5 separate regions of the Homo sapiens genome follow, and all the other regions are linked to region 5. The links are contacts of gene promoters, found by promoter capture Hi-C in blood cells and fetal thymus (Javierre and others, 2016). All regions are on one chromosome and are shown on one strand. Each heading gives the region's core, a stretch centred on a gene start or on the middle of the fragment in contact. The rest is flanking DNA. Distances are from core to core; before and after follow the strand shown. Region 1 has its middle 13 kb from the start of PDCD5. Region 2 has its middle 6.5 kb from the start of PDCD5. Region 3 overlaps ANKRD27 (ankyrin repeat domain 27). Region 4 holds the start of NUDT19 (nudix hydrolase 19). Region 5 holds the start of CEP89 (centrosomal protein 89).

Region 1 (3,043 bases), core at 250-2,749, 380 kb after region 5:
TGAGATGATGGAGTCTCGCTCTGTCACCCAGGCTGGAGTGCAGTGGCACCATCTCGGCTCACTGCAGCCTCTGCCTCCCAGATTCAAGCAATTCTCCTGCCTCAGCCTCCCGCATAGCTGGGATTACAGGTACCTGCCACCATCCATGCCTGGCTAATTTTTATATCTTTGGTAGAGATGGGGTTTCACCATGTTGGCCAGGCTGGTCTTGAACTCCTGACCTCAAGTGATCTGCCCACATTGGCCTCCCGAAGTGCTGGGATTGCAGGCATGAGCGACTGCGCCCAGCTGAAAACATTTTCACATATACCCATTTAATTTCAACAATCACTGTGAATGGTAGAATTGTCAAATGAGGAAACAGGTTCAGAAAAATAAGGGGACTGCGAGGGATCTCACAGCCAGGATCAAGGCCTGGTTGGCAGTGGCAGCTGCAAGCTTGGTGTACCCTTCCTCTGGAGAGGTAAATGCTGTTTCTTTTTGAGCTATTCTGGTCATCAGTAATGTTTTCCATCTTAAGTGACTCCCTCGATTATTTTTAAAAAACAGTTGTCATCCTGGCCAACATGGTGAAACCCTGTCTATACTAAAAGTACAAAAATTAGCTGGGTGTGGTGGCGTGCGCTTGTAATCCCAGCTACTTGGGATGCTGAGGCAGGAGAATTGCTTGAACCTGGGAGAGAGGTTGCAGTGAGCCAAGATCATGCCACTGCACTCCAGCCTGGCAACAGAGCAATACTCCATCTCAAAAAAAAGCAAACAACCAGTTGTTTTTTCCAATTGCTTTCCCTACCCAAAACTTGATGTGACAGTTGAGAAATTAATGCCCCTAATTTCCATTTTTGTGGAAAAAAGTTTTGAATTCAAAGTAACGCAAGTTCACTGATTTAAATTAGAAAGTTTAGAATAACCACTCTCCACTCCCTAAAATGTACTCCAGCCTCTTATTGCCATCAGGAACCTCTCTCCTTGTACATGGAACCACTTTTCACTCTCAGGTAGGTGTCTGAAAGAGTCTGACCATCTTTAAACACACTCACAGCAGTTGCCATTAGGACAGTGGTTATCCTGTGAGAAAGCACAGAACTTGTGAACTGCCTCATGTCCTCCTAGCATTTGTATGTAAATGAGGCCTAAAGCAAAATTTACCTGTAAATGGGATTTTTTTCAAAATCCCCGACCAAATTTTTTTTAAATTACCAGTTTACCCTGACAGAAAATCCCCAGCCAGATTTCATCTTATGATCATTCTTTTAAAAATATGTTGATGTTCTCAACGGTTCTACTTATTTATAATGTTAGATATTGTTCTATTTCTTCACTGACAATAGTTGCAAATTTCAAATATAGTAGAATCTCCAGTTTAAACATGTATCAGTAGTATGCTGGCTAACGCAGAGACTGGGGTTTGCAAACCACATTTCCCTTCATTTTTTTACTAATCCTATTCACCTTGTTAAATTTATGAATTTAATCCTGTGCTAGGTCTCACAGGACTACGACATTTAAAAGGTTACACCAAACAGCTGGTTGATGGTTAAGTTTATGATTTAAATATATGAGCAGTGGCTTGCACCTACAGTCTCAGCTACGAGGGAGGCTGAGGTGGGAAGATCAGTTAAACTCAGGAGTTTGAGGCCAGCCTCAGCAACACAGCAAGTCTCCGTCTCTGAAAACCGTAACTTATGAGTGCAGGTTTTCATAACCTAGTGGAAAGAAAGCACAACAAAAGAGAGAACATTTAAGTCACCTGCAACATTATCAGTGATATGTTACCAAAATGTTTAAATGCTGAAGTGTCTCAACTGGATTTGAAATCATTAGAAGTCATTTCTCTTACAAACATGTTTATTACTGTAGTAGCATTACCAACATGTCTATTTTGGTCATTTTCTTTTTCAGTCATTATCACTCTAGTTATTTTGGAGGGAGTGGTATTTGTTAATATCAGTACCTCTGAAAAACAATTATAAATGAGATCAAAGCTAGCTTTTTTTTTTCTTTGAGATGGAATCACCCAGGTTGGAGTGCAATGGCCTGATCTCAGCTCACTGCAACCTCTGCCTACCAGGTTCGAGCCTCCCAAGTAGCTGGGATTACAGGTGTGTGCCACCACGCCCAGCTAATTTTTATATTTTTAGTAGAGACAGGGTTTCACCATGTTGGCCAGGCTGGTCTCAAACTCCCGACCTCAAATGACCTGCCAGCCTCAGCCTCCCAAAGTGCTGGGATCACAGGTGTTAGCCACTGTGCCTGGCAAAGCTAGGAATTTTCTTACATTAAGTGGAAGTAGTATCTGCAGGAAGAGAAAGAGCTTACCTGCTTTCAGAATCTACATCTTAGAATATTAGATGTGCTCAAATGTTGAACCTGATTCAGTCTGATGGACAGGTTTTAATTCCCCTTATGTTATTGGCGGCTGCTGCTGCTGCTGCTATATTTTTCTTCCTGAAGAGTGCTGGAGCAGCTTCTGTTTCCGCCACGGACACTTTTCCTATCTAATATTCATGGCACAGTTGCAAAGGGTAGAGTCATGCTGGTACACGTGCTTAAAAGCTTTTGGTCAGGGAGGAGCCAAGATGGCCGAATAGGAACAGCTCTGGTCTACAGCTCCCAGCGTGAGCAACGCAGAAGATGGGTGATTTCAGCATTTCCATCTGAGGTACCGGGTTCATCTCACTAGGGAGTGCCAGACGGTGCAGGTCAGTGGGTGCAGCCCACCGTGCGCTAGCCGAAGCAGGGCGAGGCATTGCCTCACTCGGGAAGCACAAGGGGTCAGGGAGTTCCCTTTCCTAGTCAAAGAAAGGGGTGACAGACGGCACCTGGAAAATCGGGTCACTCCCACCCAAATACTGCGCCTTTTCCAACGGGCTTAAAAAACGGCGCACCAGATTATATCCCGCACCTGGCTCGGAGGGTCCTACGCCCACAGAGTCTCGCTGACTGCAAGGCGGCAGCGAGGCTGGGGGAGGGGCGCCCGCCATTGCCCAGGCTTGCTTAGGTAAACAAAGCAGCCTGGAAGCTCGAACTGGGTGGAGCCCAC
Region 2 (2,904 bases), core at 361-2,860, 400 kb after region 5:
GCTAGTTTGAGTAATTTTTGTGGGCTCTGCTTCTAATAGTCTGGTACTGGGCCCTGGGGTGACTAGGGCAGAGAAATAGTTGCCCTGAGTGTAACAGCCCTGTGAGGGCCCTGAAACGGAGGTGGTTGGGGAATGACTTCTGGATTGGCTGGTGTGCATCTGAAAGCTGTGCTCACAGGAGAGTCACTTACTATCTTTAGGATGTGGCTAGCCCTGGGAGGGACCATCCCTCCAGGGTCAGCAAGGCCCCAAGATGTCAGAGCATCAAAAACAGAAACTAGAAAATGCATGGTGCATAGATACCATGGAATACTATGCAGTCATAAAAAAGAAAGAAATTATGTTCTTTGCAGCAACATGGATGCAGCTGGAGGCCTTTATCCTAGGCAAATTAACACAGAACAGAAAACCAAAAATTGCATGTTCTCACTTATAAGTGGGAGCTAAATCTCGGGTGCACGTGGACATAAAGATGGAAACAACAGACACTGCGGACTCTGACAGTGAGACGGAGGGAGGAGGGGAATAGTTGAAGAACTCTCTGTTGGGTACTATGTTCATTATATAGGTAACAGGATCAATAGAAGCCCAAACCTCAGCATCATGCAATACACCTGTGTAACAAACCTGCACGTGGACCCCTGTATCTAAAATTTTAAAATAAGAAAACATGGTTATTATAGTCTCTCCCACATGCCATAGGCTGTCATTAGATAGTTGGTGGTCCTTGATTAGCCTGTTCATTTTTTTGGGCGGGGGGTGGGGAATGGAGTCTCGCTCTGTTGCCCAAGCTGGAGTGCAGTGGTGCAATCTTGGCTCACTGCAACCTCTGCCTTCCCGGTTCAAGTGATTCTCCTGCCTCAGCCTCCCCAGTAGCTGGGACAACAGGTGGGCACCACCACAGTCGGCTAATTTTTGTATCTTTAGTAGAGATGGGCTTCACTGGATTGGCCAGGCTGGTCTTGAACTCCTGGCCTCAGGTGATCCACCCGTCTTGGCCTCCCAAAGTCCTGGGGATTACAGGTGTGAGCCTCCACGCCCGGCCTAACCTGTTCATTTTTAAGGAGAAAGCAAGAAAGATTTGATTAGGAACTCCAAGTGTATGGGTGGGTTTATTGACTGGTAAGAAGCCAGCTGAAAGGCTGAGCTCTGTGAACCTGCTGTTATAAGTGGAATTATGTCCCTGCAAAAAGACACGTTGAAGTCCTTACCCCCAGTATCTTAGAATGTGACCTTGGAAATAGGGTCTTTACAAAAGTAATCAAGTTAGAATGAGGTCATTGGGGGTGAGCCCTAATCCAGTATGACTGGTGTCCTTATATAAAGGGGATATTTGGTCCAAGCACGGTTGCTCACGCCTGTAATCGCAGCACTTTGGGAGGCCAAGGAGGGCGGATCACCTGAGGTCAGGAGTTCGAGACCAGCCTGGCCAACATGGTGAAACCCTGTTTCTACTAAAAATACAAAAATTAGCCAGGCATAGTGGCGCACACCTGTAATCCCAACTACTCGGGAGACTGAGGCAGGAGATTCACTTGAACTCAGGAGGCAGAGGTTGCAGTGAGCCAAGATTGTGCCACTGCACTCTAGCCTGGGCAACAGAGTGAGACTGTGTCTCAGACCAAAAAAAAAAAAAAAAAAAAGAAAGAAAGGTGGGGGATGAGGGGAGGGAGGGAAATTGGGAAAATTTGGATGCAGAGACAGACATGCACAGGGGAAGATGAACATGATTGGAATGATGTATCTATAAGCCAAGGAGTGCCAGAGATTACCAGCAAACCACAAGTAGCTAGGAAGAGATGGGGAAGGAGCCTCTTCCTACAGGTTTCAGAGGGAGTATGGCCCCGCTGACACCTTGATACCACACTTCCAGCCTCCAGAACTGTGAGACAATATTTTTTTTTTAAAAAAGATGGGGTCTCACTCTGTTGCCAAGGCTGAACTCTAAACTCCTGGGCTCAAGTGATCCTCCTGCCTTGGCCTCCCTAGGAGTTGGGACTACAGGTGCGCACCATCATGTCCAGCTCTCTAAACATTTTGCAGAGATGGGGTCTTGCCGTGTTGCCCAGGCTGCTCTCAAACTCCTGGCCTCAAACCTTCCTCCCACTTTGGCCTCCCGAATCCCTCCCAAATCCCTGCTGGGATTACAGGCACAAGCCAGCATGCCCAGCCTGATATTTTCAGAAAGGAAAATTATTATCATCAGCTACTGCAGTACTTCTTTCTGCATGGCCAGCAATTTTCTTTTGTTCTAAGCCACTCAGTTTGTGGTAGTTTTATATGGCATCCCTAACAAACTAATTACACATTTCTTTCTTTCTTTCACCCTCCCTTCTTCCTTAGCAGGACAGGCCCCAGAATTGGGGCTAAGCCTGGGAGGGTTTCTTGGCTTTGCCCAGGAGAGAATTCCAGGACAAGCTGGTGGTGTCGGATAGCAACTTCTCTTGAAGCACTCATGCACAGCAGCAGCAGCAGAGGGGCCGTTCCTTGCGGAGCAGGACCACCCCACAGGCAGTGTGCCTGGAGGAGCAGCTCAGAAGCAGTGCTGCAGCCACATTTAGACTCACTTTTAATTATATGTAAATCAAGGGGCAGATTATGCAGAAATTTCTAGAAAAGGGGTGGTAACTTCCAGGTTGTTGGGTCATTGCCATGGAAAGGGGCAGTAATTTTTGGGTGTTGCCATGGAAGTGGTAAACTGACATGACGCACTGGTGGACGTGTCTTATGGAAAGGAGCTTCCAGCACATCCCTGTTTTAGCTAGTCTTCAATCTGGTCTGGTGTCCAAGCCCCGACTCTGGAGTCTGTTCTGCCTCCTACCTCATTTTCTCACTCTGAGACCTAGGCTGACAGAGCAGCTGTCATCTCAATGCTACCAAGTACCAGGGAAGAGATAACCTAGT
Region 3 (2,899 bases), core at 122-2,621, 340 kb after region 5:
TGCAGAGATTCCTGGATCCAGAGCTGCGGCTGGGCGGCTGCAGCTGCGCCTGGGAGTGCAGGGCTCCCGCCCTGCCAGCTCAGTAGGAGATGGGGGCTCCTGCCTGTTCCTGGCTCCTGTTGGCCCTGCAGAGTGCACAAACCTGGCCGCGCTTCCTCCACTGCAGCTTACGTCTTTGCAGCAGCCACTCCCGATGGGCTGCCACTGCCATCTGTGAGACCATTAATGTGTGCAATTTGAGGACTCAGTGGCCTTGCCATTGTTTCCTTGGTTTTTATTGAGCATTGGCTGGGGTCGGCGAGGGGATGTGATTATATTTCTATGTGAATCGTGAGAATCTTGAACCATGGTTGTCCTGCTGGCCTGTTTTACTACATACCAATGAGTAAAATGTGATCATACAGAAATCACAAAGTTGAAATCTATAAAATGAAAAGATCTCTGTATTATAAGGTGAGAGTGCCAAGGATTGAACATTCATCTTTGTCAGACTTTGATGTAGAATCTCCCAAAATAATGATGAGCTAAAGCGTCTGGGAGACAGCATCAGCCTGTCCAGGTGCTCTCAGGTGCAGGCATTTCCACCCCATTCATTCGTTATTGACACGTTCATGCATTTTCAGTCTTTTTCCTACCCATGTATATTTTACATAATTGAAATTATATTGTGTGCTGGGCCGGGCACGGTGGCTCACGCCTGTAATCCCAGCACTTTGGGAAGCCAAGGCAGGTGGATCATCTGAGGTCAGGAGTTCGAGACCAGCCTGGCCAACATGGTGAAACCCTGTCTCTACTAAAAATACAAGAATTAGCTGGGTGTGGTGGCAGGTGCCTGTAATCCCAGCTACTTGGGAGGCTGAGGCAGGAGAATTGCATTAATCCGGGAGGCAGAGGTTGCAGTGAGCTGAGGTTACACCACTGCACTCTAGTCTGAGCAACACAGCAAGACTCTGTCTCAAATATGTGTATATATATATAAAAAATATATATATATATATAGAGAGAGAGAGAGAACTGTTTTTTTCCCAAAAGAATAGCTTAATTTTTTCCTAATTAGAAGACTAATATTTGCTTACAAATAATATTTGCAGTCTATAAAATGGCAGTGAAGACAACAAAAACTTCCCATAAACTTACTAGCCAGGGGTGACACTTATTAATATTTTAGCATTTGTCTTTTTTTCTGTGCATACACAATTGTATCTTTTTTTTTTTTTTTGAGGCATGTGAGCCAGCATTTTATTCGTTCATTTCTTGCATGTGAAGCACTCCTCAATCACATCCTTGGCCCGAGATTCTTTGCCAAAGTCCTTAACTGCTACATAGCTGCAGCTAGCCCCTTCATAGGGTCTCCCCTCTCTGTCGTTTTACAGAGGCCTTACCCATTCCTTTCGTTTCTCATTGTCATCAATCTTAATTAGTTTGACCTGGTGTTCAGCACCTAGGGTCTCCCTAATGTGGCACATGCAGGCTTATCACAGTTGGATGCAGGCACACCAAGATGGGCTCAGCAGTCGTCTGAGGCTTTGGCAGCTTGGCGAATTCCATGTGCTAGGCCACCGTGGATGAAGGCGTCCTTCAGCACCCCTTGTAAATCAGTGTTAACATCCATTACACCGCCAGCAGCAGTGTCTTCCTCGGCCATGGCAGTGGGTCACGGGTGCAGCAGTGCAATGTCTTCCTCAGCCACGGTTGTGGGTCATGGGTGCAGCAGTGCAAGACCTTCCTCAGCCATGGCAGTGGGTCACAGGTGTAGCAGTACAATGCCTTCCTTGGCTATGGCGGTGGGTCACGGACGCAGCTGAATCTTGAACACACCTGAGCCTCTGCCTCCACGTGACTTGGCGGTAACAAGGAATGAACACAGTTATCTTTTTAACCAAAATTTTAGATCATGATCTCGCTGTACTCGTTGACAGTATTCAGGTACTTGTTGAAGAATTAATCTCTGCTCTTCTCTGAAGTCTGATTTAATCACCCCACTCAGCTGCCAGTGAAATTGGGGGTCATCCATCGCATCTCGGATGTGGCTGGCTGTGGCTCTTCTGAAAAGTTTCTTTCTTCTGCCTTGTTTCCATATTTAGGGGGAAATCAGCAAGATTCTAGAGTATGTATGTGGGCTGGGTGCAGTGGCTCATGCCTATAATCCCAGCACTCTGGGAGGCTGAGGCGGGTGGATCACCCGAGGCCAGGAGTTGGAGACCAGTGTGGGCAACATAGTGAGACCTTGTCTCTACAAATAAATAAATAAATAAAAAAGAATGCGTGTGTGTGTGCTCTTGTGTCTCTACCTATGCGTGTGTGCAGATCAGAATTTCTGTTCATTTCCAAGGCTGGGGAGTAAGAGTTGTGAGTTTGACTTGTTTTCTATGAGGCTGTGGGAACTTGTGTTTCTCTCACCGTGCCTGCGGTGGTTTTTGCCCTGCCCTCTGGTTCTTGCAGGGCAAGAAACAGATTGGTCTGAGAGTTCACTCCCTGGCCGGCTTTCCTGCCCTGCAGAGGAATCACTCTGCTGTGCCTTGCTGGGCCCAGGGTGTCTCTGGTCACCTGGAAGGAGGTGTCCACCTCTCAAAGATGCTCCCATCCCCTTGCTGCTCCCTGTAGCGTGGCTGTCTTCTGCTTTCTCATTTTCTGTGGAGGCCTTCACCAGGTTGTAAGGAGGTGGCTGACCAAACAGTATACATCGGCTTCTCACACCTCCTTTTATTTCAGAAAATATTGCAGGCACATTGGCAGTAATATTTGAGAGGTTCCTTCTCTCGTGCTGGTGTTGGTTTGAGGGTTTGAGTCCAGTCTTTCTTTTTTTTTGAGACTGAGTCTCGCTCTGTCACCCAGACGGGAGTGCAGTGGTGCAATCTCAGCTCAATGCAACCTCCACCTCCCGGGTTCAAGCGATTCT
Region 4 (2,983 bases), core at 173-2,672, 280 kb after region 5:
GACACATCTGAACATCTGAAGGAAGAAACTGGACACACCATCTTTAAGAACTGTAACACTCACTTCGAGGGTCCGCGGCTTTATTCTTAAAGTCAGCGAGACCAAGAACCCACTGGAAGGAACCAATTCTGGACACACCAGGAGCTGGAGACGAGCCTGGGTGTGCAACACAGAGAGACAAGACCCCCATCTGTACCAAAAATAAATAAAAATAGGAAGACTGGATCATATTAAGTCTGTTCTCCAAGAAAACCAAATTAAACGGCTGTGGAGATGTACTATGTCTACACATGTACAAGTGCTTACACAGTGGCCACGCTGGAGGAACCACGTGGAGAGACAGGCTCCAGGCCTTGAGACCCCAAAGCCTAGGAAAGCAGAGAGCACTTCACCAAGAGCATGGCTTTGGTCTACAGGGGTGAGAGTTTCCAGCCCGTCTAAGCGTTCCTTGCTGCTTAATCTCTCTGGGCTTGGCCTATGCGGGGGTCCCTTGGGGGCCTGGGCCGCTGGGAGGGGTCCTCCCTCTCACGTCCTGGCGGTCCGCAGCAAGGCCCTGAGCAGGCCTTACCTGGTAGCCCACCACCTCCGCCAAGTCGGGGTAGACGGGCGGCGGCTCGCGCAGGCAGCACAGGAAGAAGGCCGTGTCAAAGCGGCGAGTGGTGCCCCGCAAGAAAGGGGTGAGCCAGGCGCTCCAGTTGTGCAGCGCCCAGATGTCGGGTGTGCAGTCGAGGTGGGCGCACAGCCGCAGGAAGTGGCGCGGGTCCTGGCGCACGCGGTCGCGCCAGGAGGCCAGGCCCGGCGGTGGCTCCAGGGCGAGGCCAGGCCCGGGTGCTGGGCCTGGTGGGGAAGTCCTGGGCCGCAGCAGCAGCACGCCCGCCTCCTCAAAGGCCTCCCGCACGGCGCAGATGCGGAAGGCTACGTCCTCAGGCAGCGTCCCAGTGTTGTCGGTCTTGTGGTCATCGGTGTCGGGCAGCGACGGGAAAGCGGTGCGGCTGAATGGCGCCGGGCCCAGGCCGAAGCGCGGCGGCCCGTGGTGCGGCGCGAAGAGGCCCAGCCAGTCCGCCGAGCGGTCGGCCGCATCCAGCACTCCGCCGGAGAAGACGTGCGCGCCCGGCATGAAGCCTTGGTGCGGGGAGCGCTGCAGCAGCAGCAGCCGGAAGCCCTCGGCCGGCGGCGGGCGCGACGGCGGGGTGGCGGTCTCCGGGCGCGACCAGCCAGCCGCCAGGACGATGCTGGCCGCCCGCCGCCAGCGGCTGGGGCCCGGCCGCAGGGAGCTGCTCATGGCGCGCAGCTTCCCGGATCCGATTCTGGCGCGGCCTGAGCTCCACGGCAGGTGGCCCGGCCCTGCAGGGACCCCAGCACCTCCGGGGGCCTCGCGGGAATTGAGGACGAGCCTCTGGCGTTGGGTGAACCTGGGCGTTTGGTCGGCAACGGCGCCTGCCTGTGGGAGGGGCACCCGAGCAGGGACCGCCTCGAGTGCACTGGGGCCCAGCTAGGGCACTCTCGCGGGACAATGGGTGTCACGGCAGCCAGCGACCGTTTGTCATTCACAGCTGCCTGAAAGGAGGACCGCAGTATTCCCACGCAGGAAGCTTGGACCAAAAGCAGGAATGCTTAAGGGCGCATATGACTTGCCATGGTAAAAAACAGGATGCCAACCCAGGCCTGATGACATCCACCTCACTAAAAGCTAAGGACTAGGACTTTCTGCTTTAAACAAGGACCCACATGTGGGTGTTTTCTGTGGGAGAGGGAGAGAGGACATTCGAAGGGCAGAAGTCTGACCTTTGCAAGCACACGTGAACCACACCAATGAGAAATGAATGGACGAGCCAGATGCCAATTTATAAATTTCCTACTGCACACCTTGAATGTGAAAGGTACTCCCAGAGTAATTTCTCTCGTGTTCTGGTTACCTTTTATTGTCAGGGCGCCTGGGGACGGCCTTAGGTGTCTTAGGACATTTGACGAGTTCCACTTTGATGGGAGATGTTTAATCTGGGCCTCCACATGGAGATTTCTCTCCACCTTGTTAGTGTCTAGAAGACTTCCACCTCCAATAGCAGGATTATGATCTTTTGAAAAGCCTGTGTAAATTTGAGTCTTTTCTTTTATAACTCCTTATCAGTCACCGACAGCTTTTCCCATAATTGCTATTATAATTGGATCACACATTTGTTATGTTTTTGGATGAAATACACTATACCCCTGCCGACCCTCACAAACCATCATTTTAATGTGGGTTATTTCCTGGGTAGAATCCACAGATGACATTGTCAATATTTAGGGGTTTTGTTTGTTTTTTTGTTTGAAGAGACCTGGTCTCTGGCCAGGCGCTGTGGCTTACACCTGTAATCCCAGCACTTTGGGAGGCCGAGGTGGTCGGATCACCTGAGGCCAGGACTTCAAGACCAGCATGGCCAACATGGCAAAACCCCGCCTCTACTAAAAATACAAAAATTAGCTGGGTGTGGCGGCCCGCGCCTATAGTTGCAGCTACTCAGGAGGCTGAGGCAGGAGAATCACTTGAATCTGGGTGGAGGTTGCTGTGAGCCAAGATCCTGCCACTGCATTCCGGCATGGGTGACAGAGCGAGACTCTGTCTCAAAAAAATAAATAAATAAATAAAATAAAAATACAGAGCAATGGAGAGAAAGGCACTCAGGTGATTAAAGTAACATGTCTTCAATACTAGGAGTAATAATAATCCTAGGGGATAATAATATTAGTAGTTACTGGGTACAGTGTGTGAGGCACTAGGAACTTTATTAGTATTAGTTGTGTAATTCTTACAAAACCCCATGAAGTGGAAACAGTTACCACTATTTTACAGATGACTAACCATTTATGGAGGGATTAAGGGTCTTAAGAACATACTACTCCCTTTGCTGTAAAATAACACCGTGGTTTTGTAGGTGAATGTGTGTGTTTCAACATCAGCTGGTTTTCACAGAAGCTGGTTACTCATGAGTGAGATGACCAA
Region 5 (2,848 bases), core at 273-2,772:
TCGACAGATAAAAGTCTGGTGTCAAGCCATCCTCGAAAATGAGCTTAATTTTCCCTTAAAATACAGAGAAGAAAATGAGTTCCATAAGCTTTGGATGAAAAGATGGCAATAATAGGCAGATTTTTTTTTTTTAATATGTCAGGGGAGGAAAGGGCTGGCAGAGGGCAGGCCACCGACCTTGCATCTCCTGCGCCAGCTGTGACCCGCGCCATTTCTCATTGGCCACAATATGCCCCAAAGGCACGTGCACGGGGCCCGTATCATCAGGGGGGTTCTTTTCCATGGATGGTCTCCACCTAAGGAGGGAAAAGCCAGGCGGCACTTGAGCAGGCTCTCCTGCACACGGCCCTGCATTCCACTCCAAGCCAGGGCCTCTGGGGCAGGATCCCCTCTGCAAACTGAATTATTTGTCAAAGAACTGTCAAATAAGATTCCCTTTATAATTACTAATAAGAAAACACAGGCTGGGCGCGGTGGCTCACACCTGTAATCCCAGCACTTTGGGAGGCCGAGCGAGGCGGGTGGATCACAAGGTCAGGAGTTCAAGACCAGCCTGGCCAAGATAGTGAAACCGCGTCTCTACTAAAAATACAAAAAAATTAGCCGGGCTTGGTGGTGGGCACCTGTAATCCCAGCCACTTGGGAGGCTGAGGCAGAGAATTGCTTGAATCCGGAAGGCGGAGGTTGCAGTGAGCCGAGATCGCGCCACTGCACTCCAGCCTGGGCGACAGAGCAAGACTCGTCTCAAAAAAAAAAAAAAAAAAGAAAAGAAAAAGAAAACACAAAGGCCTGAATGAAGGCCAGGGTGGCTGGAGACGGGATGTGTGGTGGTGGAGGTGGTAATGGCATTGGATTCCAATAAGGCCAGAGGCACGATCAGATTTAAGTTTTAAAAGAATCCTGGGCTGGGCATGGTAGCTCACGTCTGTAATCCCAACATTGGGCAAGGCTGAGGCGTGAGGATCGCTTGTGCCCAGGAGTTCGAGACCAGCCTGAGCAATACAGCGAGATCCCGTTTGCCAATTATTTGTGGCGAAATAAATTCTCTAAGAACCAGGAGATTCCTGTCCTGGTGTCCGCGTCCTTCATTTTCATCACGTGCCTAGCCCCTGATACCCCAGCTGGATCCGCACCGTAGCTTCTCAGTCCAGTCCAAGGCCCGAATACAGCCGGCAGGAACCCCACCGTCCCAGTCTAGAGATCATGTTACTGGTGGCCGCGCCACCTTCCGGGTTCACGCCCTCGGTGCTCGCCCAGTCCTTCATCCAGCCCGCCCTCCGCCTCCCGCAGCGCCGGATAGGCTGTGGCGTCAGAAATGGACGTCTAACCTGACCAATAAGAGAACGGATAAGGGCGGACGTTTCCGCCCTGGCGGGGATTTGAACGGTACCCACTGGTTGCCAAGAACGACCGGTGTGGAAGTAACCTTAGCTCTGATTGGTCGAGGGCCGAGCTGAGCCAATGGCCGACGTGGTTGCTGCAAAGTCCATTGCGAAGAGAAAGCGTGAGGGCTGGGCCTGCGGCGGGCTTTAGGGAGTGGTCCCTGGCTGTGGATAGATCTGCTGATGAGTCCAGGCCCCGGTCCATTCTCCTCGCGCTGCAAGGATGCTCCTGGGATTTCGGAGAGGCCGCAGGAGTCATTTCGTAAGTAGATGCTCGCCCGCCGCGCGTGGGGCTCTGTGGGGCCGGGAATTAGGGGTAAAGTGTTGGGGCGGGTTGGGGTTTGGCCTGAGATCCAGTCAAGGGGGCGGCACAAGAGAAAGTGGTTTTCAGTTGAGGAAGCCTTGATTTTTCGTGTTCTAAACTTTTTTTTTTTTTTTTAAGAAACAGGGTCTCGCTCTGTCGCCCAGGCTAGAGTGCAGTGGTGCGATCATAGCTCACTGCATCCTCGAACTCCTGGGCTCAAGCGATCTTCCCACCCCAGCCTCCCGAGGAGCTGAGACTACAGGCGCGCGCCACTACTCCCGGCTAATTGTTCAATATTTTTGTGGAAACAGGGATCTTGCTATGTTCCTATGGTGGTCTTGAGCTCCTTAGCCTCCTAAAGTGTTGGTATCACAGGCGTGAGCCACTGTGCCCGGCGTTAACAATCTTCTGCCCCAGGGTCGGCCACAGTTGGACAGGAGCACCCTGCCTCCCCTGTAGCATTCGTCCCCGTGCCCGGAGTTAACTCCTGGACGACGTACACCTGCTGCACTGCTGGATATAGCCATTCTTCATTTTTCCCTCCTCCACCCACCATGTACACCCCATCAGCAAGTCCCATCCGATATACCCACTACATACATCTGCCAGCTGTTCCCATCTCCACCCACACCCCGGCCTCCAGCATCTGTCTGGACTGCTGCGGCAGATCCTCACTGGTTTCTCTGCTTCCACTCTCGCCCTTCCCCTAGGTCCATTCTCCACGTAGCAGCCAAGGGGATTCTTATATTTATTTATTATTTAATTTAGTTTTAGAGACAGGGTCTTGTCCTGATGCCCAGGCTGGAGTACAGTGGCATGATCATAGCTCACTGTGGCTTCAACCTCTTGGGTTCAAGTGATCCTCCTGCCTCAGGCTCCTGAGTAGCTGGGACTACAGGTGTGCACCACCACACCTAGGTATTTTTTATTTATTTTATTTTTTGCCTCACACTCTGCCAAGTCTCAATGCCTGGCTAATTTTAAAAATTATTTTGTAGAGGCCACGTGAGGTGGCTCTCACCTGTAATCCAGCACTTTGGGAGGCTGAGGCAGGCGGATCATTTGAGGTCAGGAGTTCAAGATTAGCCTGGCCAACATGGTGAAAACCCATCTCTACTAAAAATACAAAAATTAGCGGGCGTGGTGGTGGGCACCTGTAATC

Evidence for each region. The method cuts DNA at HindIII sites, captures the fragments that hold promoters and counts their contacts. A CHiCAGO score of 5 or more calls a contact.
Region 1: a fragment that was not itself captured here is called in contact with the fragment with the promoter of CEP89 in region 5 in 3 of 17 cell types (naive CD8 T cells, total CD8 T cells and naive CD4 T cells); the score reaches 6.5 in naive CD8 T cells.
Region 2: a fragment that was not itself captured here is called in contact with the fragment with the promoter of CEP89 in region 5 in 2 of 17 cell types (naive CD4 T cells and total CD8 T cells); the score reaches 6.3 in naive CD4 T cells.
Region 3: a contact is called between a fragment that was not itself captured here and the fragment with the promoter of CEP89 in region 5, in 1 of 17 cell types (naive CD8 T cells). The highest score is 5.3, in naive CD8 T cells.
Region 4: the fragment with the promoter of NUDT19 here is called in contact with the fragment with the promoter of CEP89 in region 5 in 8 of 17 cell types (non-activated CD4 T cells, naive CD4 T cells, megakaryocytes and 5 more); the score reaches 8.6 in non-activated CD4 T cells.

The regions. Positions count from the first base shown.
Region 1 is chr19:32,593,119-32,596,161 of GRCh38, reverse strand. No RefSeq gene overlaps it. Among named protein-coding and RNA genes, the nearest start is that of PDCD5, 13 kb to the right of the region's middle. RefSeq lists enhancers at 2,464-2,963, 1,974-3,043, 2,964-3,043. The HindIII fragment of the contact is 2,118 bases long and covers 441-2,558 here.
Region 2 is chr19:32,573,205-32,576,108 of GRCh38, reverse strand. No RefSeq gene overlaps it. Among named protein-coding and RNA genes, the nearest start is that of PDCD5, 6.5 kb to the left of the region's middle. The HindIII fragment of the contact is 3,532 bases long and covers 1-2,904 here.
Region 3 is chr19:32,634,824-32,637,722 of GRCh38, reverse strand. All of the region lies in intron 12 of ANKRD27 (ankyrin repeat domain 27), which reads left to right. It also overlaps the pseudogene RPS12P31. Among named protein-coding and RNA genes, the nearest start is that of SNORA68B, 28 kb to the right of the region's middle. The HindIII fragment of the contact is 4,616 bases long and covers 1-2,899 here.
Region 4 is chr19:32,690,260-32,693,242 of GRCh38, reverse strand. NUDT19 (nudix hydrolase 19) reads right to left here and starts at 1,422. Exons shown (of 3, transcript NM_001105570.2): 1 at 569-1,422. The coding sequence starts at 1,282. It overlaps NUDT19-DT (NUDT19 divergent transcript), which reads left to right and starts at 947. Exons shown (of 2, transcript NR_186320.1): 1 at 947-1,880. It overlaps LOC124904690 (a long non-coding RNA gene), which reads left to right. Exons shown (of 2, transcript XR_007067226.1): 2 at 1-278. RefSeq lists a silencer at 1,050-1,459. The HindIII fragment of the contact is 6,189 bases long and covers 1-1,594 here.
Region 5 is chr19:32,970,632-32,973,479 of GRCh38, reverse strand. It overlaps CEP89 (centrosomal protein 89), which reads left to right and starts at 1,522. Exons shown (of 19, transcript NM_032816.5): 1 at 1,522-1,644. The coding sequence starts at 1,606. It overlaps FAAP24 (FA core complex associated protein 24), which reads right to left and starts at 1,238. Exons shown (of 5, transcript NM_152266.5): 1 at 1,134-1,238; 2 at 178-296; 3 at 1-54. The coding sequence starts at 283. RefSeq lists enhancers at 1,065-1,114, 1,495-1,714 and a silencer at 1,255-1,384. The HindIII fragment of the contact is 6,189 bases long and covers 91-2,848 here.